Regions from separate parts of the Homo sapiens genome. Here all the other regions are linked to region 5. The links are contacts of gene promoters, found by promoter capture Hi-C in blood cells and fetal thymus (Javierre and others, 2016). All regions are on one chromosome and are shown on one strand. The core of a region is centred on a gene start or on the middle of the fragment in contact, and the rest is flanking DNA. Distances in the headings are between cores, read along the strand shown. Region 1 overlaps C2CD5 (C2 calcium dependent domain containing 5). Region 2 has its middle 39 kb from the start of ST8SIA1. Region 3 overlaps KCNJ8-AS1 (KCNJ8 antisense RNA 1). Region 4 has its middle 77 kb from the start of ST8SIA1. Region 5 holds the start of CMAS (cytidine monophosphate N-acetylneuraminic acid synthetase). Region 6 overlaps KCNJ8-AS1 (KCNJ8 antisense RNA 1). Region 7 overlaps LDHB (lactate dehydrogenase B).

Region 1 (3,365 bases), core at 407-2,906, 410 kb before region 5:
TATCAGGGAAAATTCTGGATGCTACTGTCAGGTTACTGGAAAGGGAGTGATACTGGCTTGGGATTCCTGGTTACCTCTGTGATCACTCATTTTTTAGTTTCACAAAGTCTTGATACCACCAGAGGGAGCTGTTGATATCGAAGTCTTCGAATGAAGAAGTTGGTGGTGAGAGTTAAGACTAGGGAGCAGCTTATGCTGATCTGTGAAGCATAATCATTATCTTGTCTGTAATTTGTAATCTTATAGACTCTTCCCCACAGCAAACATTTTCCTTCCATGTTTCATTTCAGATATTCTTCCCAACACATTGACCCTTTTCTCTGCCTAGTCTCACATCCTGCTTTCATCATACTCACATTCGTTACTATGTTTATATTTTCTTGTGACTATAAAGTTTCTGAAACTCTTTTTGTGTTACAGTAAGCAAGTAGTCTCCTTTGGCATGGTATTTATGAACTGAGCTAGTTTTCATTTATCAATAGAAACTGCATTTTAAACCTAGATGCTTTTATTTGGTTTGCTTTTGCAATGAAGCCATAAAGATTTCCTCCTATTCTTCTGGCTTATAGAGGTATTAACAAATAACAAAGAAGAGGTACTGGCTTGTACTTAGCATCTGAGCTAATGTTGTTCATATTGTCTTATTAGAACACCTGGAGAGTGCAAGTTCTAACTCAGGTATACCAGCTGCACAGAGAGGTGAGTTTGTCTAATTAAGCAAATAGTCACCAAAGGTGTAAAATTCTAGTTTGGTGGTGCATAAAATTATAGACATTGAAGAAAATGCACTGGACAATATGGAATAGACACCAAAATCTGGCTTTTTTTTTTTTGTAGGTAGAATATGTTCTTTTAAAAGCATCAATTAAACTAATATTTAAATTTTTTAGTATGTTAATGGTTTCCCAGTTTCTAAGCATAAAATTTTAGCTCCTTAAAATTTTTTTTCCAGCTTAGCAGTAGTAAAAGTTATTGTTTTTAAAAGGGGGAACTTGTGAGGCTCACACCTGCCCTGACCCCATATTATCAGAGGCTTTGTTGCCCAAAATCAGACATGGAAACAAAACATTAACAAAAATGGCCCTTTGGTTTTCCTCTTACTGATTGTAGAAAGAAGATACTTTAATAACAGATAAGTCAACTACTAACTTTTAAAAATATATTCTTCAACATTTGATTCTCTTTTTTTAAAATTTTAGGGTAAAACTAGGGAAATGAATTATTCACAAAGCTTTGATTATAAAATAAAATAGAAACAACTGAAATATTGTAAATTAAGAAGAATAGGAAATAAAGTTAGTTAAAGCACAGTATGTGGTCCTTTCATTGATATTTATGTTAGACCCCACTCAGGCTCTCCCTAGGAGACCACACAACTATGACATCACCAGAAATGCTCAGCCTGCTAACTGAGAACTTGGTTTTGGACAAATCAGTGTCTAAAGCTTGACTCTTTACTATCTCTCTTATCTGACTTGAAAAGGACCATTCTTTTTCTGAGTTACAGTTAAATTACATCATCGAAAGGAGTGTTAAGACGAGTAAGAGACATCATCCATATTTTTTTCTTTGTTTTTTTCTTTTGTTTTCTGTCTGTGTTTTCAGCAACGTCAGTTGATTACAGTTCCTTTGCAGACAGATGCAGCAGCTGGATAGAGCTCATTAAACTGAAAGCTCAGACCATAAGGCGTGGATCAATTAAGACAAGTAGGCGGATGTTTCTACCACATTATGATAATCTGAGAAACATATCCCTGATTTCCCAGTGGTGAAAGCTAGACCTTACTACCCAGTAATAACATTGCCAATCCATCATGTATTAGAGTGTGAAAGCTGCAGACTGTAACGGTCATTTAGGAAAAGCTTTTGAAAGGCCTTTAGATTTATTAGTTTTACCTATAGAATTGTGTTTTTAAAATTTTCCTTTTTGTGCAGGTATTCTTAAAAGTATATAAATAGATATTATATCATTCTAATTGGAAGTAAATTGCCAACTCTCTTATTGAAAAGACATTCTTCCAGGACCCAAGGTACTATTTAGTATGTGGCATCTGTCGGTTTATTAAGTGTGATATGCAGAGGGCTAAACTAATAAAGAATTTATGGTGAGAAAGTAGTTATTACCTTACTGCTAGAATCAGAATCATTACTTATATGTTATCTTATGCCATGTGTTTTGGTAAATTTTGAGGTAAATATATTTGAGTGAAAGAGCTTACCGTACATTAAAAGGGGGAAAAAACTACATTTCACAGGAAATAATATAGGATGTGAAACCAGCCAGATCTGGTTCTGAATCCTAGAAGTGCCATTTTAATAGCTATGAGACCTTGGGCAAGTTACTTAACTTCTCTAACCTTCCATTTCCTCATGCATGAAATGGGGATGATGATGATAACCTGTGTTTTTGGGTGGTTGTAAGGATTAGATATATATATATATGTCTGGCTTATGGCAGTTATTTAATAAGTGGTAGCTATTATTTTTTTACTTTATAAACAACCAACTTTTAGCTAGCAGAGGTCGTTAAGCTTTTAAAATTATGAGTTGGTTTTCAAAAAGGTTTGGAAAAAACCAGTATCTTACAACTAGATAACATAAGGTTTATCTACAAGTTGACAATGATGAAGTCGTCTGAAAAAGATGGAAAAATTGCACTGGGAAATAGAACAACTTTCACACTCTCCTTGTAATAATTTGTTCCTACAGCAGATAATTTTAATGCTCAGCCGCTTTTTCTTTTTCTTCACTTTATAACCAATCATTGTGTGTGTAGCTATACTGCATCAACATTTTCTTTTGCAGGAATGCCATTTTTCTTCCAAAAGAATTCCATTCCAGCATTTCCTCTCATGTTTTTCTGTCTCTCTTTTTTAATTGCATGCAGTGCATGATAATTTCTTTTCTTTCATGACATGGCTTAGCCTCACAGACAGCTGAATGTTGTCACCACTTATTTGGAAACCTCAGGGAATAATTGTGTTACCAGCGTCTGTTCTGAATGTTTTCTCATTTTTCTCCAATTTTAGCCATGACAGTTGAAAAAGCAAGTCCAGTGGGTGATGGAAATTTCCGGAATCGTTCTGCTCCACCTTGTGCAAATTCCACAGTTGGGGTTGTTAAGATGACACCTCTTTCTTTTATTCCTGGAGCAAAAATAACTAAGTATCTTGGGATAATTAACATGTTTTTTATTCGAGAGACTACTTCTCTTCGGGAGGTAATTTTATAGAAGTTATTTCATTTTTTAAAAAATTTTCTCTGAAGATTTAGTAACAAAACTAAGTTTCAAATTGTTATTTTTTGCCAAAAACTTACAAATATTTATTTATATTTTAATTATCTGGATTGAGTCTAGAGTTTAT
Region 2 (3,191 bases), core at 208-2,707, 330 kb before region 5:
TAATCTTTAATCTAGGTATTTCCAAATATTCACAAACTCCTTATGCAACTATAAATAAAAACTTATTAATGTAGCCAATTAAAATTTTGAAATATTTAAACATAGATTTTATTCTTAATATTTCTATAAGTCCAATAGAGTGAATTTTTTTCGTGTTGTAAAGACTCTTAAATATGTCCATAAATGTACCCATAGAAATTTTTTAAAAATAAACAAAATTGTAAATGCACATAAAACAACACAATGATTAATTTTTTTTCATTATACTTAACCAACACTGGTTTCTAAAGTATTGATAGGATGCCTCAAAAGCTAACCTTATCTTTTGACTCTTACAGAGGAAATTGGAACTTGCAAACTAAAGTTTTCTGCTTCACTCTCATTTATCCCCCATTTGAATGCTTTTGTCAGAGTGACAAAAGCATTTTAATACTTTTTTAGTTTTAAAGAAGACATCAAGAATTTTATTGGATTTATTTTATATTATAAATTATCTATCCACTTACCAGGGTGAACTTGTTTTGTACTTCCAGTGCCTTTTAGAGATGAACAATATTACTTGAGCCTAAGGATCCATTTAAGGGTAAATTCAGTTTACTATTATGTTATTAATGTACTATAATGCCAGGTAAAGAAGTAGTAATTATCCAAGTATTTGCATGTATAATTATGCTGGTGTTTCATGCTTAAAGCTTGTTTCCTTTTTTTCTCTCGCTTTTTGGTATTATTTTTTAAGTTTCACAAGAATATTATTATTTCCCTTGTGAAGGGAGGAAGTGAAAACGTTAGAACTGTGGAAGTTTCCACTCTGAAAGAGACAGTGTTCCTCTTCAGAGTTTATGTGGCTACATAAACCAGGGTTCTGCAGCTTGAGTCAGAATCAAATTCCCAATGCTCAGTATTACTGAAGACATTATTCAAGGTCTCCAGTGAGTCTGCTAATTAATCTGGGTGGTCTCTTAACCAACCAAACATGCTTACCTGAAAACTCCAAACATCCCTAATTACAAAAACTACCAGAAACCCCAAACGACTACTTGGTTTAAAAATAGATACAGATAAAGAGGTAGATGTTGAAATATATATATATATATAGATCAGTGTTTCCCAACCTTGGCACTACTGATATTTTGAATTAATTAATTCTTTGTTGTGGAAGATTGTCCTGTGTGTTGTAGAATTTAGCAGCATTCCCGGCCTCCACCTGTTAGATGCCAGTAGCATCCTTCCCCCAGTAATCATGGCCAAAGATGTCTCTGGACATTGCCAAACCTTGAGAACAACATCTCCTTGGTTGAAAATCACTGACACGCATGTCATAATTCAAATATATGCTGTGGTATGGAGAATCAGACCTAAGCAGAAACTTTTAAAAATGCTTCCCTGACCTTGATATTGCTGATGGAGAGGGAGGAGAGGGGTCCCCTTCTCAACACAAAGCTGAAGGCCTTGAGAGAGACCAAAATGGCACCAAGTGTAGTAGAAAGCAGAAAAGCAGACTGCGCTCAGATTTGCAGACTGGTTGTTCTCTGGTTGTTTGGGATGGATAGGGATTGCTAACTTTTAGAGAGAGGTTCCAGAGAACTGCATATATAAACCTTTTATGTTAAATGCTTACATCAGCAGCATGAGGTGAGTGTACTTTTGTGGAAACTTTATGGTAGTCTTTATCTAGCTTATAAATTGATTTCAATGTTGTTTGCAACTTAACATTTATGGAGAAAGTAGTTTTTCTACATTTGAAGGACGTGAGAACCAGCATCAGAGATACTCTTAAAAGGACATTTAGACAATTTCATTTTCTGAGATAGACAGTGATGTTATAAGCTAGAACTAAGGAGAAATAATTGGCAATATTTTTGTAATGAGGGAGACTTTTAGTAATTTGTTTCATTGTGTGAGAAACTTAATTTAACTTACCAAAACAAAGTAACACATAGTTCCCAATTGACTTCAGTTTTGCTTTATAGCTACAACCATGAAAAATTATTCCACATAACAAAGATATAAAAATTTCATACACTGTCTATTTTTTTCATATTTTATTCCCCATTTATCTTTTCTTCCCTTTCTAATCCTGTCTCTCCTCTCTGTTTACACTGTATTCTTCTCTTTTACCCTGCCTTGTACTTTCATTTTTTTCCTCTGTCTAGTCCCTTGCAGTTGGTTTTCTCTTCCCTTTATAGTTTATCAAACAGCCTGCAATGGTCTTACCAAGCTTCTACATAGAGGACAGAATTGGCACAATGTTTTTGTTCTGCAACCTGAAAATTTTTAATCTTCACATCATTTTATTTGCAGATCTATATAGAAAGGGTTTGTACTAGAGAATGATTTCATGCAGAATTAAACTTTATATGGTGGAGACTACTGATTATCCATAAAAGTCTGTTTTCCACTTATGCTATACTCATAGAATTGTGGCTAGATATAAGGCAAAAGCACACTGGGTTGATAAAAACTACATGGAGAGAGAATCTAACAAGATTAAAATTTAATTTATTTAGAAATGTATGTCTGATTATATTTTAATTTTACATATAGTAAAATTTACTATTTAGTGTACCGTTCTTTGAATTGTGAAACATGCATAGAGTCATAGGATCACCACCACCCAATCAAGATACATAACAGTTTCATCATGAAAAGAACATTTCTCAATATCCCTTTGGCATCAAATCACTCTCCAGTCCCAACCTCTGACAACCACTGATCTATCCTCTCTCCCTGTAGTTCTGCCTTTTCCAAAATATTGTATAATTGGAATCATACAGCATGTAGCCTATGGTTTTTTTCACCTAACATGATGTATTTGAGATTTATTTTTGCTTGGTATCCAGTTGAGTATTTTTAAAAATTGCTGAATCATATTCCTTTTTATGGATGGACCAGAGTTTGTTTATCATCCACAAGCTAAAGAGCATTTGTGCTGTTTCCAGTTTCTGGCAGTTATAAATTAAGGTGCTATAAACATCTATGTACAGGTTTTTGTGTGAATATAAATTTGTATTTGTCTTTGATAAATAACTGGGAATGGAATTGCTGAGTCATATAGTAATTAATGTGTAGCTATATGAGAAACTGTCAAACTGTTGTCTTAAGTAACTGTGCCATTTTGCATTTCCATCAGTCATGTATGAGAGTTTTAGTTGTTTTGCATCCTTACCAGCATCTGGTATTGTTAATGGCTT
Region 3 (3,107 bases), core at 209-2,708, 330 kb after region 5:
ATAAGAAAGTTGTTTAAGATATTTACTTTAATATTTTAATAAACATGGCTTTTAAAGGGCCATCCGTGTGCTAAAAAGTATCAGAATTAAAATATTTGCTTGAGGTTTACTAATGACAAAAATCTCGTGTCAGTATTTTAAAGAAAGGTAACAGATTAATAATACAGAAGCTGTGAGAGCTACTTTGGAAAGTCTCTTCTTAAAATGTCCTTTTAGAAGTAAGTTACCATCAGTTGAACACCCTACCTTTTACACCATTAGACTAGTGCATAGCCTGGAAGTTAGTTATCTTCCAGCATGGGAGGAGTGTTAGTCCAATTGAGAAGAATATACTAAATGCTATCAACTATTTTTGTTATTGCATCTCAAAGAATATTAAGGTTTAGTGCAATTCTATGCAGAATCCCAAGCAGACATGTTTAACTTGGCAAATAACTCTAAACTTCTGTAAGATAAAATGAGCAAGACAAACAAGTAGATTTTTGTGAGGAACAAAATCATAACATGAGGAATTTGTCTTACTAGATGTTAAAATTTACTATAAAGGTACAACAATCAAAACTGTGAAACTTAAACAGGAATGAATAGATCAAAGGAGTATAATCAAGACCCCAAGAATGCTCACATACAAAAAACTAGTATATGCTACATGTATGATCAGTAAGAAAATACATAATCAGCAAAAAAAAATGCATAATACATAAGAAAATAGCTGATAAGCAGAAAAAGAACTATTCCATAATGATCCTGGAAAATGTATCAATTATTTGAGAGTAAAAAAACAAATAATTCCAAGTGTATCATAAAGTTAAAAATTAAAAATTTGGGGGATTCCTCTTTCAGTTTTGGAGCCCCCCCTCTCTGTCTCTGCACGGGGGAGCTTCTTCCTCCTGCCTTCTCCCTTGTTTTTTGTCTACTAAACTCTCTACTCCTTAAAACCAAAATAAATAAATAAATAAATAAAAATTCAAAGCAGAAAAATAAAAACCAGGAGAAAATATAAACAAACATTTTCAAAGCTTTATATGGAAAAGTTAAGCTTTAAGAAATGGAAAACTCACAAAGAAAACAATTACTAGATTTAATTATTTGTAAATACTATCAAGAACTGCCAGTATCAAAATTAAAGGTAAACTCTAAAATGGAAAAATACTTCCAATAAATATGGATTCAGATAATGTCTTTAAGACATAATTAATTCTTATGAACCTGAGAGCAACATATCACACAACAAATTAAATTGAGAAGAATCACAAATGAGCAGTTCACCAAAGAAAAAATTTAAATGTTTATTAAACATATTAAATTGGTCATCTCCCTAAGAAACAAAGAATGTAATTAAAAATAAGACAACTTTTGCCTATAAATGGAATGAAAAGAGCGCTGTGATCTATTGGGGGAATTATAAATTGGTAAAAGTTTCCTGGGAGAAAGATACACAGATATTTGCCAAAACATTTTTAATAATAAAGTCAAAACTGAAACAACTTAAATATCTAACAATAGGGGAATAGTTAAATAAATTACGGTTAGTAAGATTATGCACTTGGATAATATTCATAATCGGTTACTTTAAAAAAAAAATCCAGTAACAAAACTGTATATTGAATAATCCAAGTTTGATATCACACTCTCACACAAATCCACATACACATTTTTGTAGAAAAAAAAACAGAAAATAGGCAAATACATTGTTTGCAATCTTTTGATCATTCAGATTTGCCTTATTGTCTTGGGATTTCTTAGAATAACTGCAAGGGGTATGTATTGTTATTTTTAGAAATTATTATTTAAAATAACATGTGCATGCAGTAACCATGCATATGTCTGATCTTCAGGAGAATTGCAGGAGATAGTCCCCATCTTCAAGAAGCTTATAGTTCCACTCACAAATGTGCATACACATGAAAGACAAATCACATGTAGATGACAAGGTATATTCAAATATCAGCCCATGGAATAATTTGTATTTTGGAAATCTGAGGCATTGTGGATTAGAGTAGTCAAGGGGGCTGAGTCTTGAAGGAAGTTAGTCTGATAAGAACAGGTAAGTGATCAAGACTTGAGAGCAGATAGGACAGGACATGACACATCCTGAAGACAATGACAAAGCATGTCTGGCAATATATCACATGTTTGTACGCTTTTGATGGGTATTTTAAAGTTAAAAGGTATCTGGAAAACCAACATAAAGGTACTACTGTACTAACACATCAGAGTATTTACAACTGTCATTTTCTTGCAGAGATTCTATAATAGCTTGCCTCTCTGAGAAAAGAGGTAAAACTCATTTTTAACAGTGACCAATGAGTTAATTAAGTGTATGAGCATTCTAAACTTTATCACAATTGTAGATAGGCAACATTTTGTCATTGTGACTACATCTCAACTCCTTAGGGACAAATAGAACTGTCCACTAACAGTGGCTGTGGTGAGCAGGGCTCATATATGTGCTATGCAGGAAAGACAGAACTTTCCCATGACCTAAAGAGACTCTGCAAAGTGACCACAGATGGTTTATACCAGAAAAGCTGGAAAAATTATATGAAGTCCTGTGAAAAACCTTAGTTTGGAAAAAAAAATAAGAGGAAGCAAATAAATAGGAGGTCACCAGCAAGCTCCAAATTAAAGGAGGTCTCTCTGAATCACCCTTTCTGAGATTTTAGCATATGGACTTCCTAAGTCACAAAGGCCTGGAGAGAAGATGAGAACCACAGTAAATTCCAAATCCCGGAGTTTTATTATCCCATTGTTACACACTAGAGAGATTTATGGAGCCGCTCCCAAAAATGTTGTAAGTGTGCTACAGAAATGGCTTGTTCTCCCTGAGCCTTTTAATAAAGAAGTAAGGCAGTGTGCCAGGAAGAGTACAGAGTGAAGAGTAGGTGACTAGAACTTCAGCTATCCTGATAATTCTCTGAGGGAAATGGCACATCATACTTAACCTCACAGGGTTTTCACTTTCATTATCTGCAATATGAAGACAGTGTTCAAAATCAAAGAGGCACAACCAGTCCTGAGCAAGCTGAGAAGATTGCTGCTCAGGAGGACTATCCAGAATGTTCAAAAATAGAAGATGCCAGCTGATTCCATACAAATTCCAAATA
Region 4 (3,165 bases), core at 52-2,551, 370 kb before region 5:
GCAAAATTGGGATCCATGTCTACTTTGCTTCCCATATGTTATTCTGTTACCTCAAGTATCTGACTCCATTGTAGTTAATTGCTTCCTGTTTCTTTCCCTAGGTTATGAGATCCTCCACAGAGAACTGAGTAAGAACAATGATGTACATTATTAACTAAAATTATCACATCTTGCTTTATTATTTATTTGTTTTTTTAACCATCCTAGAATAGATAATGTATTGTAGTTTGTTGCCTCGGGAAAGATTTGATTTTGGTTACGTGACACAGAGAGAAGCCGGCTTAAACTTCCCTTGGATTCTTTCTATACTTGGCTTGGTTCTAAAGAGCCACACAGCTGTGGGAATCTTGCAAGCATAATTTCAATTCTACTTTCAGGTCAGAATCAAAGAAGGATTAGAAAGGAGTCCATTTCAAACTTTATAGACCACTTCAGGAATACTTATTCTATCCTACCAGTTCTGAATGTATTAAATTTATTAAAAACTGCTAAGTTCCCTGCCTAATTTTTTGTTAATATTATAATCAAATGTGCTTAGTTATTGGTGTCTCTGCAACCACTGAAAATGCCATGCACTTATGAACAGAATATATTTTCTCATTTGAAATGGCAAAGCCCCAGAGGTTCTAATAGCCACCCTCTTCCAGATACATTATTCATTGTAAACTAGCTTTCTAGAATCCTAGATTATGGAGAACTAAGTATCTTTTATATTTTAAACCACGTGTATGCTAATGTATATAATGAGCGTTTCAAACAATCTTTTTGCTCCTGGTCAACTTTTTTTTTTTTTTTTTTTTTTTTTAAATAATAAAGGCGGCCGGGCGTGGAGGCTCACGCCTGTAATCCCAGCACTTTGGCAGGCCAAGGCGGGTGGGTCAGCTGAGGTCAGGAGTTTGAGACCAGCCTGGCCAATATGGCGAAACCCTGTCTCTACTAAAAATACAAAAATTAGCTGGGTGTGGTGGCACATGCCTGTAATCCCAGCTATTCAGGAGGCGGAGGCACGAGAATCGCTTGAACAAGGAGGTGGAGGTTGCAGTGAGCCGAGATTGCCTCACTGCACTCCAGCCAGGGTGACAGAGCGAGACTCTATCTCAAAATAGTAATAATAATAATAATAATAATAATAATATAGGCACTGAACATTTTCGAAAAAGCTTAAGAAATAAGAAAAACAAGTTAGGGAAGTTTAACTGACAAAGCATTTAACACAATTCATTATAAGATGAATGACAAACAAGTAAAATGGAACATGAATAAGAGATTTATTTAGTGCATCAACTGTTAAAATGCAAGTCTTTATGGCTTATGCTTCTGTATAGACGCTAGGCCCGAAATGGAGGTCTATTTCCCACTTAAGAGCATGAAAAACACCACTTATCAACTGCAGGGAACAGTTTTGAGATTAGATGCTAGGCATCGCACAAATGGAAGCTTTTCAAAACACAACATACAGAATTACATGTTGGGAGGGGGTTCAGGAGGTCACCCAGATCAGTCGTCTCTCTATTAAATTTGTCCCTTGTTAAAATTTTTAGGGAAGGATATTCCAAAACCGGTCTGAGGTTTAAGTGTCCAAAGACCATGAGAAATCTTAAAATTTTATCACACATTGACTATAGAGAAAAGTTTTTAAAAAGTCCACAACAAAGCAGATACAATTGTATAGAAACATCTAGATAATAGAGCTCCCCAGATCAAGCCCCCTCTATTAACCCCACCACCCCGTGTTTTCTCATTACATTTAGACTGAAATTAAAATCCTGCAAGATCCTATAGGAATTAGCCCCTGACTCCTTCTCTGACCTCAGCATCTTCCACTCTCTCCCAGTGTCCCGGTTTCCTCTGTTTCAAACACTGTACGGTAGCAATAATGTGTCTCTTGTTCATCACTGCACATCTACAAAATATCTTCACAGCAACACCTAGATTGGTATTTGGTTGGATATCCCTCATGTTTTAACTGTTTAATAAATATTTCTACAAATCTACAAAAGAGTAAAAAGTTATATATATATTTGTATGGATATATATGTGTATAATTATTTTAATAGTGGTGTTTTATCTGCTTCAAAGTTCGTTTATATGTTTTTTCCCTTTCAGCTCTATCTTGTTACCTAGTTTCTTGAAACTCCCATATGCTTGCTATTAGATTACTAGGACACTAGCAACGGATAGAAGTCATTGACAAAATAGATGAATCACTCAGTGTGGCTTGGTACTGGCATTGAAAAAATAGATTGGCACAGCAATAGATGGGAAGAATGTGTTTATTGCTGTAGGAAAATACCTGGAAATACCAGTTTCTCCAGTCAGAGAAGTCAGACTCCAAGTGAGTATTTCACCACAGTCTTTCTAGAAGCAAGGTAATACAAGTATACAGATGCAAAATGGAATGACTCAGCTAGCCAAGATTCAATTAGCGTTAAAGCATAGAAGCCGCATTTAGGGGAAACTGTGAATGATAGACAACAGCTCCAAATCAGAGCAAAATGATATGTCCTTAGACCGAAAAGTTTCTTGTCTTTTTTTTTTTTTTTTTTTTTTTGATCCAGAGTGTCGCTCTGTCGCCCAGGCTGGAGTGCAGTGGCGCGATCTCGGCTCACTGCAAGCTCGGCCTCCCAGATTCACGACATTCTCCTGCCTCAGCCTCCCGAGTAGATGGGACTACAGGCACCCGCCACCACGCCTCGCTAATTTTTTGTATTTTTAGTAGAGACGGGGTTTCACCGTGTTAGCCAGGGTGGTCTCGGATCTCCTGACCTCGTGATCTGCCCGCCTCGGCCTCCCAAAGTGCTGTGATTACAGGCGTGAGCCACCGCGCCCAGCCAGTTTCTTGTCTTTCTAAGCCTCATTTGAGCCAGGGTAGTGATAGCACTTTCCATCATGGCACCACCTTAGGAGAGCAGAAACTCCGGGCTAATGTGCCACCGACAGAAAGAATAGTCAACATGTGCATTCAGATTCTGTTCATGCTACTGCTTTGAACCAAAGTCATTTTCTAGGTTGAATGAAAACGACCTTACCTGCCTCGTCCTAGCTCTAATTCCAGCAAATGCCACAAGCGGAGTATTGGCCACCCAGGCTGAGCTCGCTCACTCAGCTCTGAGCATTCTCTCCCCAACTTGTGATATAACAAAACACAGACAGTGTCTATACTCA
Region 5 (3,265 bases), core at 288-2,787:
GCAGAAATTAGGGCTCAGTAAATAGCTACTGAATTGAACAAAATCCCCAGGTCCTTCCCTATCTCTCCTTCGCACACTTCCTATTGCACTAGTGTTATCTTCTGAGTGGTGGCTCCTATTTGCCTTGGTCCATCCAGGACTTCTTTTGGGTTGAAACATTAAGAAAATTAGTATATTTATACTTTTTTGGCATCTCCCGTTTTTGAACAAGACTGGTTAAATGAAAATCATTTACCCATATATTAATATGGGTAAGCAAATATAGGTTCAAAAAGAAAAAGAGATGACTTCAAAAACAGTCATCTCTTTAAAAATCGAAACATCAAAAGGTTAACATAAATTAATTTCCACAATAACAACACATTCAAATGTAGTTAGGTTGAAGCTATATGTGTAAATTCATTCTTGGCACAGAATTCGATCTCCCTTCTTTTATGAATAACATCAGCTTGTAACTCCTGACCAATTTGGCAATGTATCTAAATTACGCATAATTAAAACTGTCCATAGGGCAGGCGAGGTTCCAAAGGTATGATTAAATGATTTGTAAGTATTAATATATCATAAAACAGTCAGTTGTACACCTTCCCACTGAGTCTCACGTATTTATAAATGTAGGGAGTTTTCTAGATTGTGCTGACTCACAGGAAGATAGCTGGAGTATTTTTCAAAGGTTAGGAAAAGATCTCCAAGCTGAGCTTGAAATTCAGCTCTGACACCCCGACACTCAACTCCATTCATGAACCTGATGCCTCCCTAATCGAGCAGCACCAAGCAGTTATCAGAGGCTGAGCAACAGGGGAGCTTCGATGGCCCCCATCCAAAGAAGTTCACATATTATCACAGATGTTGCACCGGGGTGGCCTCCTTTACTTTTCCCCGTAAGGTCAACCCGGGAGGAGGGGACGGTTGGGGAGGTGTAATCTCCCCTTTTACGGATGATTCTCAAGGGCGGAGACAGGAACTGTCCCAGGTTATGACCATTGGCAGCTACGGAACAAGGAAGGAGCTGGAGCCCTTCCTCCTGGGCTCTCAGCCCGGCCCCAGGCACCCCGGATCTTGCACATCCCTGGCATGAGAGATGGCCCCCTTCCAAGAGCGGTGGCCCCGGAGGCCCCAGCCCCTCCAGCAGCCCGACTCCCTCTCCCGACCCCCGCCCAGGCCGCGCCGCCCACTCTCGCACATGCGCACCTCTGGAAGGCCCCTGAATCCAGGGCCGCACGCAGGACCCAGCCAATGAGCGGGACCCCCGCCAGGTGCTTAATGTTCTTCAGGGGGATGCCTTTGCTGCCTCCCCGGGCCAGAATTAGGGCTGCCAGGTGCGGGGGCTTCTCCACACCTCGGCCCTGGCCGCCGCGAGAGTTGCGCTGCAGCTTCGGCGGCCGGCCCCGGGACGGTCGCCCCCGCGGGTTGGAGACGGAGGTGGCGGCCCCCTTCTCCACCGAGTCCATCTTCCTCCCACGCCTTCTCCCCAGCTTCTCCACATCCGGGAGCTAGTCCCTCACCACCTCAGCTCGGCGCCGCCCGATCCCCGCCTGGCAGCTGGCGCGCGCGGCCGTCCCTCGCCCCGCCCCCTCCCCCGCCCCTCGCGGTGCTCGCTGGGAATTGTAGTCCGCGGCCGCCTCGTCTGGGGCCAGTAGGCCAAGTAGGCTCTGATGAGGTGACCCCAAAACTAAGTCAAGCAGTGGGAGTCCAGAGATATTTGGAGGAAGTGCGGCTTTTGGGGTGCTTGCAAGTGTCTGTAAATTTCTAAAATTAAAAAAGAAAAAAAGTATTTATAATTGCTGAAGAACTTCCCCACTTTAGAATTGTGGTGGGTTTCCCGTTGCATACCTTGATGCACCCTGACACGAATCCATTTTATATTTTAAAATGTACATTTTAAACATACACCTTTTTTTAATGCCCCTGGGTCATTTTTTCCAAGAAATTACTGACCAGCTCATTCAAATATCCTACAGGCGCCTTAAACTCAACGTTTTAAAAACTCCATTTTTCATATGCTCTCCGCACTTTGATCGACATCAGCATTCCCTAGCAGCAGAAATTTGGAAGTCAGCTTTACTGGTCACCTCTAGTGTGGCCGACACTTGGTTTTTTGGTTTTGTTTTGTTGTCTGCTAAAAATCTTTTCCTTTTAGGAATTGATCCCTCTCTCATCCGGTGAGGGTTTCCCTCACATTCTCTGCACTGTGTGTGACCCAAGCTGGTCCATCTACGCACCCCATTTTCCTTAACACACCTGTGGTCTAGGGACAGGCATATGACCAAGCAGAGCCCACTGGAGTCCTTTCCAGAGAGTCTTGGAAAGAAAGGATCTTTCTCGTGCTGACTGGGTGCTAAGGACCTTGTTAACCTGAAGCCTCAGGGCAAGGGTAGGGTAGGGCGGCAGGGGGGCTTTGCTGTTCTGAAATGGGCTGGAAGACTGATGTTCTCCCTGAGGAAGCAGAACAATGACATGTAGGGATTAAAGAGAAAGAATTCTGGAGGCATCATTTAAACTCTTTTTTTTTTTTGAGACAGATTCTCACTGTGTCCCCCAGAAGGCTGGAGTGCAGTGGCACAATCTCGGCTCGCTGCAACCCTCTGCCACCCATTCTCAAGCGTCCTGAGTAGCTGGGATTACAGAGGGGCACCACCACACCCAGATAATTTTTGTATTTTTAGTTGAGTTGGGGGTTTCACCAGGTTGGCCAGGCTGGTCTTGAACTCCTGACCTCAAGTGATCTGCCCGCCTCAGCCTCTCAAAGTGCTGGGATTATAGGCATGAGCCGCCACGCCTGAGCATTTAAACCCTGATCCAGCCAAGAGGCTCAAAGACATACACCCACACACACCTCTCTTAGGAAAAAAAAAAAAAGAGACTTTAAAGCAGGCATCTCTGACCTAGCATGCATTTTGTCTTTCAGCATGTTTGCAAGCCTATATTTGGAAGTAGAGTCTTTTACATTTCTGAGATGGAGGCTGATACAAACAGAAAGAATGGATTGTAGTGTGTCGGCTTGCCTTCTCCCAGAGGGCAAAAGGATTTTGTACTTCTCAGGTCTTGGCCATTTTTGAGGGGAGAGAAGAAGTCTTTGATGTTTTGGGTCCTATGAGAGGTACTGGATACTTTACATCTCTTAGTCTGTGAATTAACTGAGGGCCCAGCCCTTCCTGGGACTGGTGCTGGAAGAAGGTGCTTCGTGCAGACACAGATAAGGGAGGCTGTGAGCAGACATCAATGCCATGCTTGGGAAAGGGGCAGGCTCTATGAGCCATTCCAG
Region 6 (3,046 bases), core at 18-2,517, 350 kb after region 5:
AGCAGGCCAACAAGCCACCAACCGACTGGCAGACTGACACGGAGTTTGGCTGGGGCAGTCGGAGGAGAGCGCCCAGGCCATCCAGCAGCCCAACTCCAGAGGAAAACCATCTTCCTTCTGGCTCCCTCATCTGCTGAGAGCTACTTCCACTCAGTAAAACCTTGCACTCATTCTTCAAGCCCACGTGTGAACCGATTCTTCAGGCACACCAAGGCAAGAACCCGGGATACAGAAAGGCCTCTGTCCTTGCCACGAGGCAGAGTGTCTAATTGAGCTGATTAACACAAGCTGCCTATAGACAGCAAAACTAAGAGCCCCCAGTAGCACACACTCACTGGGGCTTCAGGAGCTGTAAAAATTCACCCCTAGACACTGCCATGGGGTCGAAGCCCCACATCCTGCCCATCTGTATGCTCCCCCAGAGATGTGAGCAGCGAAACACTGAAGAAGCTAGCCACTCCCTCTCTCGCATGCCCTGCGAAGGGGACAAGGGAACTTTTCCAGTTTCACTATGACCATGGCAAAAGCTACATACCTCAAGACTGCCCATTGAGATTAGAAAACAATACAAAATCCTGACCCTTAATCCAGCTGTCTTACTTCTAGGAATCAACCCAAAGATACATTAGTAAAAACAGAAATATACCTGCTTAATACTGGTTTTTTTTTCTTTGCAACTTTTATTTTAGGTTCGGGGGGGTACGTGTGCAGGTTTGTTACATGGCTAAATTGTGTGTCATGGGATTTCTTAGTCACCCAGATAATAAGCATAGGACTTGATAGGTAGTTTTTTGGTCCTCACCCTCCTCCTACCCTCCACCACCAAGTAGGTCTTGGTGTCTATGGTTCTCTTCTTTGCGTCCATGTGTACTCAGTGTTTATCTCCCAGGTGAGAGAATATGCAGTATTTACTTTTCTGCTCCTGCATTAATTTGCTTAGGATAATGGCCTCCAACTCCATCGTGTTACTGTAAAGGGCATGATTTCCTTCTTTTTATGGCTACATAGTATTCCATGGTATATACATACCACATTTTCTCTATCCAGTCCATCATTGATGGGCATTTAGGCTGGTTTCACATCTTTGCTATTGTAAATAGTGCTACGATGAACACATGCGTGTATGTGTCTTTATGGTAGTTTGGGTATATACCTAGTAACGGGATTGCTGGGTTGAATGGTAGTTCTGTTTTAAGTCCTGTGAAAAATCTCCAAACTGACTTCCACAGAGGATGAACTAATTTACATTCCTACCAGCGGTGTGTAAGTGCTCCCTTTTCTCCACAACCTCACATGCATCGGTTATTTTTTGACCTTTTAATAATAGCCATTCCGATTGGTGTGAGATAGTATCTCATTATGGTTTTGGTTTGCGTTTTTCTAACGATTAGTAATGTTGAGCTTCTTTTCATGTGTTTGTTGGCTACATGTATGTCTTCTTTTGAGAAGTGTCTTCATATCCTTTGTCCATTTTTTAATGGGGTTGTTTGGTTTTTGCTTGTTAATTTGTCTAAGTTCCTTATAGATTATGTATATTAGACCTTTGTTGGGTGCATAGTTTGCAAATATTTTCCCCCATTATGTATGTAGGTTTTCTGTTTACTCTGTTAATAGTTTCTTTCAACTATGCAGAAGCTCTTTAGTTTAATTAGGTACCATTTGTCGAGTTTTATTGTTGCTGCAATTGCTTTTGAAGTCTTCATCATGAAATCTTTGCCAGGGCCTATGTCCAGAATGGGATTTCCTAGGGTTTCTTCTAAAATTTTTATAGTTTTGGGTTTTACATGGAAGTCTTTAATTCATCTTGAGTTGATTTTTGTATATGGTGAAAGTAAGGGGTCCAGTTTAAATCTTCTGCATATGGCAAGCCAGTTATCCCAGCCCCATTTATTAAATAAGGAGTTCTTTCCCCATTGCTTGTTTTTTGTCAATTTTGTTGAAGATCAGATAGTTGTACATGTGTGGTTTTACTTCTGGGTTCTCTAACCTGTTCCCTTAGTCGATGTGTCTGTTTTTGTACCAGCACTATGCTGTTTTGGCTACAATAGCCTTGTAGTATAGTTTGAAATTGGGTATTAAAGTGCCTCTAGCTTTGCTTTTTTGCTTAGGGTTGCCATGGCTATTCAGGCTTTTTTTTTTTTTTTTTTGGTTCTACATGAATTTTAGAATACTTTTTTCTAATTCTGTGAAAAAATATCATTGAGGTAGTTTGATAAGAATAGCATTGAATCTGCACATTGCTTTGGGCAGCGTGGCCAATCTAACAATACTAATTCTTCCTATCCATGAACATGGAATATTTTTCCATTTGTTAGTGTCACCCCTAATTTCTTCCAGCAGTGTTTTTTAATTCTCATTGTAGAGATTGTTCACCTTCCTGGTTAGCTGTATTTCTATATATGTTATTATTTTTTTGGCTACTGTGAATAGGAATAAGTTTTTTTATTTGGCTCTCAGCTTGGATGTTCCTGGCGTATAGGAGTGCTAGCGATTTTCGTGCATTGATTTTGTATCCTGAAACTTTGCTGAAGTTGTTTATCAGATCTGGGAGTTTTGGGGAAGAGACTATGGGATTTTCTAGGTATAGAATCATATCATCTGCAAAGATAGTTTGACCTCCTTTCTTCCTATTTGGATGCCTTTTATTTCTTTCTCTTCCCTGGTTGCTCTGGTTCTCAAGGGGAATACTTCCAGCTTTTGCCCATTCAGTATGATGTTGACTGTGAGTTTGTCATAGATGGCTCTTACTGTTTTGAGGTACATTCCTTCAACGCCTAGTTTGTTGTGCATTTTTAACATGAAGAGATGTTGAATTTTATTGAAAGCCTTTTTGTGTCTATTGAGATGATTGTGTAGTTTTTGCTTTTAGTTATTTTCATATAATGAATCATACTTATTGATTTGTGTGTGTTGAACCAATCTTTCACATCAATAAAGCCTAGTTAATCATGGTGGATTAGCTTTCTGATATGCTGCTGGATTTGCTTTTCTAGTATTTTGTTGAGGGTTGTTGCACCTATGGTAATCAGAGATATTGGCCTGAAGT
Region 7 (2,997 bases), core at 121-2,620, 410 kb after region 5:
TTGGCTTTAAATAGCTTTTCCCTTCATATCTGTTTCAGTCATAGTAGATTCTACCCCACACTTTTGCTCCTATTTCCAGAGTCTACAATGTACTCCTCCAAAGGTCTCCAAGAAACATATAACTTAGGTTTTAAGGTCCAATTCAAAGGCCCATTTTGTGTAGTTCTTTCTGATACTCTTCTCCTTTAAATTAAGTAGACCCTTATTTATAATTTTTACCCCACTTTCATAATTATGCTTTATTTGGGTCTTATTCTAGGATTTTTTTTCTTTACTGTAGAATAAAGGAGCATATATTAGAAAAATATGGAGGAGAAAAGTTAAACATTCCTCAAACCAAAAGTTTAGCATAGTCCCCAACTAGAATCCCTGTGATTTCACACACCTAGAGAGAAGCAAAGAATTTTATTTTCTCTGTAACTATGACACAGCAATTCTGCTTTGCACTAAAATTCTTGAAAGTTAAAAGGTCAGACATGTTGCTATTTGAAGGCAAACGTCAGCCTTTTTGGGGAACTATACTGGAATCTACTGGAGAGTCACTTATTGGAGCAGTTCCAGTTGGTATTCAGTAATTTGCATCATAGGTGAAATTGCACTAAAAGAAGAAAATATTTTTTAAAATAATGTAAGAAATAACTGCAATGTCTTTTTTTTTTTTTTTAAACAGTGGCTGTGTGGAGTGGTGTGAATGTGGCAGGTGTTTCTCTCCAGGAATTGAATCCAGAAATGGGAACTGACAATGATAGTGAAAATTGGAAGGAAGTGCATAAGATGGTGGTTGAAAGGTAAGTGAAAGGGAACTTGATTTTAGATGATTAATTTCAACTCTACTTAAATAAAATTATAAACATTTTCCATGGCTGTCTGCTCAGATAAACTCTTAATGTAGTAATTATGCAGCTGTTATCTTTTGAAACTGATAAGACTTTTACACTGGTCAAACTTGCTATGCCAGTCTCCCTAGGGAAAGTAAATATTTTCTCTAGAGAAACTCTATTGTAGAGGTAACAGGAGCAAAATGTGGAATTAACAAGTGAGAAGAGTCTTCAAATTGCCACCTCTCAACAAATAAGGTTGATTTATTTAGAAAAGTAAACTTAGAAACTATTGGTTTCATAATTGCCCCAAATAAATAAACTTGCTTGCTGATTGCTAACAGTGTTTAAGTTTTAATAACAGGACTAACTGATGTCTCAAATATAGAATCATTTTGTTCAATTTTAGTAATTTTTTTTTCAGGAATTTGAACTATATGTGGAGAAAAGGAACCTTAAAAAAGTTGAAAGAGTCTTTATAATTTCAATTAACATATACCTTTATTTTACAAGTGAGAAAACTATGGCTCACCCAGATAGTGTAACTGGTCCAAGGTCTTCTAATGATTGGGTGTCAATTGCATTAAATCCTAATTTTCCAATACTCAGCTAGAGTTATTCCTGCTGCTTCTCAAGTGCCAGGGCCTTTATGGGTTTTAAGAGCTACAATTTGTGCTGAAAAAACTGTCAGGCAAGATACTCTTATCCCTTTTATTAGTTAGTTGATTATGTTAGGTGACAGTGGCAAGTGGGACCTCACAATTGAGATATATTTTGTTCTTTCACTTTTATTGTTTCCTGATTTTATGTGTTTGGAAATATGTTTACAGATTTGTTACAATGATTGGAAAATGTATATTTTTGCCACAGTGACTTTATAAATCTTAACTTATACAATAAACTAAAGTTATCAAGCATTTATATAGTGTTTACTGTGTAGTGCTTACAGTTTTAAGCATTTTACATATATATTAATTCATTTAACACTCAAAAAGGGAACACTAAGGCAATAAAGGGTAAATAATTTGCCCAAGATTATAGTTAGAGACAGAGCAGTAGTCAAAGTCAGGTCTGGTTTCAATAATGATTGAGTCTTATTTCAGTGATGTCTTTTATAATTTTTTTAAGTGCCTATGAAGTCATCAAGCTAAAAGGATATACCAACTGGGCTATTGGATTAAGTGTGGCTGATCTTATTGAATCCATGTTGAAAAATCTATCCAGGATTCATCCCGTGTCAACAATGGTAAAGGTAAGACAAACTACCACAAAATGTAATATGATTTCTCGCATTGTATTCTACAAAAAGATTCATTTAAAGAGGCTCAGACCAGATAAAATCATAGTTCAAGGTTATTTCTGTCTCTCAAAGTTTTATGTAAACTATTCTCATTTTCCAACAGAAGTCTTGGACAGCAAGGGCAGAAAACTTAGAGAATCTAAGACATTCAATAGATTGTTGTCATTCTTTATATAATTTTGCAAATTAAATATTAACTCTGAATCTTAGCACATTCTTAAAGTATTGATCATTTGAATAAGTGTAATAGAGTTTCATTTAAAGTTGATGTACTAAACTCTAGATTGCCTTTCATATAGCACTTGATACCTTAGCAAATACAGTTTAATTCAAAAGCTATGGAGCAAATGCACAAAACAGGTAGAAATTAATGATTTTTTAAACAAAACTAAAATTATATTAAAATATTTTGTAAGACAACTGACTCATTTTCCACAAGTCAGTGTAAATCAAGTGTGTCAATAATTGGGTAATTACTGAGTCTTTGGGTACATACATAGGAATTTGTTTATTCTATCTACTTTTGTGTATGTACAAAATTTTTGAAATTAAAAGTTTAAAAACTGACATTAAGGTATGTTTAATATAATTAGTTATATAGTTAAATTGACCCTGTGAATAAATTACCCACACGAACTGGTAAAGTGTTTTGGAAATTGTATTTTTTTTTTTTTTTTTAGCAATTCTTGGGTATTCCAAGCATCTTGCCTTTTAATGGTCTCTAACTATTACCCAGGACCTCATAAGTTGGCTACCACCTGAAATTTCTTCCTAACTAAAAGTCTTTAAGCAACTTAAAATTTCATAGAAAGTAATCCATTAAGAACCACAATTAAAAGCAATTTAATTTGAAGACTCATATATCAAAATTTATTAAAG

What was found. The method cuts DNA at HindIII sites, captures the fragments that hold promoters and counts their contacts. A CHiCAGO score of 5 or more calls a contact.
Region 1: a fragment that was not itself captured here is called in contact with the fragment with the promoter of CMAS in region 5 in 15 of 17 cell types (activated CD4 T cells, erythroblasts, total CD4 T cells and 12 more); the score reaches 17.3 in activated CD4 T cells.
Region 2: a contact is called between a fragment that was not itself captured here and the fragment with the promoter of CMAS in region 5, in 6 of 17 cell types (monocytes, erythroblasts, total CD4 T cells and 3 more). The highest score is 8.3, in monocytes.
Region 3: a contact is called between a fragment that was not itself captured here and the fragment with the promoter of CMAS in region 5, in 4 of 17 cell types (total CD4 T cells, M2 macrophages, naive CD4 T cells and 1 more). The highest score is 5.9, in total CD4 T cells.
Region 4: a fragment that was not itself captured here is called in contact with the fragment with the promoter of CMAS in region 5 in 5 of 17 cell types (naive CD8 T cells, non-activated CD4 T cells, M1 macrophages and 2 more); the score reaches 6.8 in naive CD8 T cells.
Region 6: a contact is called between a fragment that was not itself captured here and the fragment with the promoter of CMAS in region 5, in 7 of 17 cell types (non-activated CD4 T cells, naive CD8 T cells, total CD4 T cells and 4 more). The highest score is 10.9, in non-activated CD4 T cells.
Region 7: a contact is called between a fragment that was not itself captured here and the fragment with the promoter of CMAS in region 5, in 1 of 17 cell types (naive CD4 T cells). The highest score is 5.3, in naive CD4 T cells.

What each region holds. Positions count from the first base shown.
Region 1 is chr12:22,456,826-22,460,190 of GRCh38, reverse strand. C2CD5 (C2 calcium dependent domain containing 5) reads left to right here. Exons shown (of 27, transcript NM_001286176.2): 23 at 649-699; 24 at 1,606-1,707; 25 at 3,030-3,220. Among named protein-coding and RNA genes, the nearest start is that of C2CD5, 86 kb to the left of the region's middle. The HindIII fragment of the contact is 418 bases long and covers 1,448-1,865 here.
Region 2 is chr12:22,372,319-22,375,509 of GRCh38, reverse strand. No RefSeq gene overlaps it. Among named protein-coding and RNA genes, the nearest start is that of ST8SIA1, 39 kb to the right of the region's middle. The HindIII fragment of the contact is 1,526 bases long and covers 695-2,220 here.
Region 3 is chr12:21,710,910-21,714,016 of GRCh38, reverse strand. All of the region lies in intron 1 of KCNJ8-AS1 (KCNJ8 antisense RNA 1), which reads right to left. Among named protein-coding and RNA genes, the nearest start is that of KCNJ8-AS1, 50 kb to the right of the region's middle. The HindIII fragment of the contact is 834 bases long and covers 1,042-1,875 here.
Region 4 is chr12:22,409,825-22,412,989 of GRCh38, reverse strand. No RefSeq gene overlaps it. Among named protein-coding and RNA genes, the nearest start is that of ST8SIA1, 77 kb to the right of the region's middle. RefSeq lists a silencer at 3,102-3,165. The HindIII fragment of the contact is 277 bases long and covers 1,163-1,439 here.
Region 5 is chr12:22,044,490-22,047,754 of GRCh38, reverse strand. CMAS (cytidine monophosphate N-acetylneuraminic acid synthetase) reads right to left here and starts at 1,537. Exons shown (of 8, transcript NM_018686.6): 1 at 1,192-1,537. The coding sequence starts at 1,451. RefSeq lists enhancers at 405-1,110, 1,426-1,720 and silencers at 1,413-1,640, 1,284-1,653. The HindIII fragment of the contact is 10,395 bases long and covers 1-3,265 here.
Region 6 is chr12:21,691,778-21,694,823 of GRCh38, reverse strand. The region is part of intron 1 of KCNJ8-AS1 (KCNJ8 antisense RNA 1); the gene reads right to left. Among named protein-coding and RNA genes, the nearest start is that of KCNJ8-AS1, 31 kb to the right of the region's middle. The HindIII fragment of the contact is 7,770 bases long and covers 1-3,046 here.
Region 7 is chr12:21,636,144-21,639,140 of GRCh38, reverse strand. LDHB (lactate dehydrogenase B) reads left to right here. Exons shown (of 8, transcript NM_002300.8): 6 at 671-788; 7 at 1,947-2,070. Among named protein-coding and RNA genes, the nearest start is that of LDHB, 20 kb to the left of the region's middle. The HindIII fragment of the contact is 3,914 bases long and covers 1-2,997 here.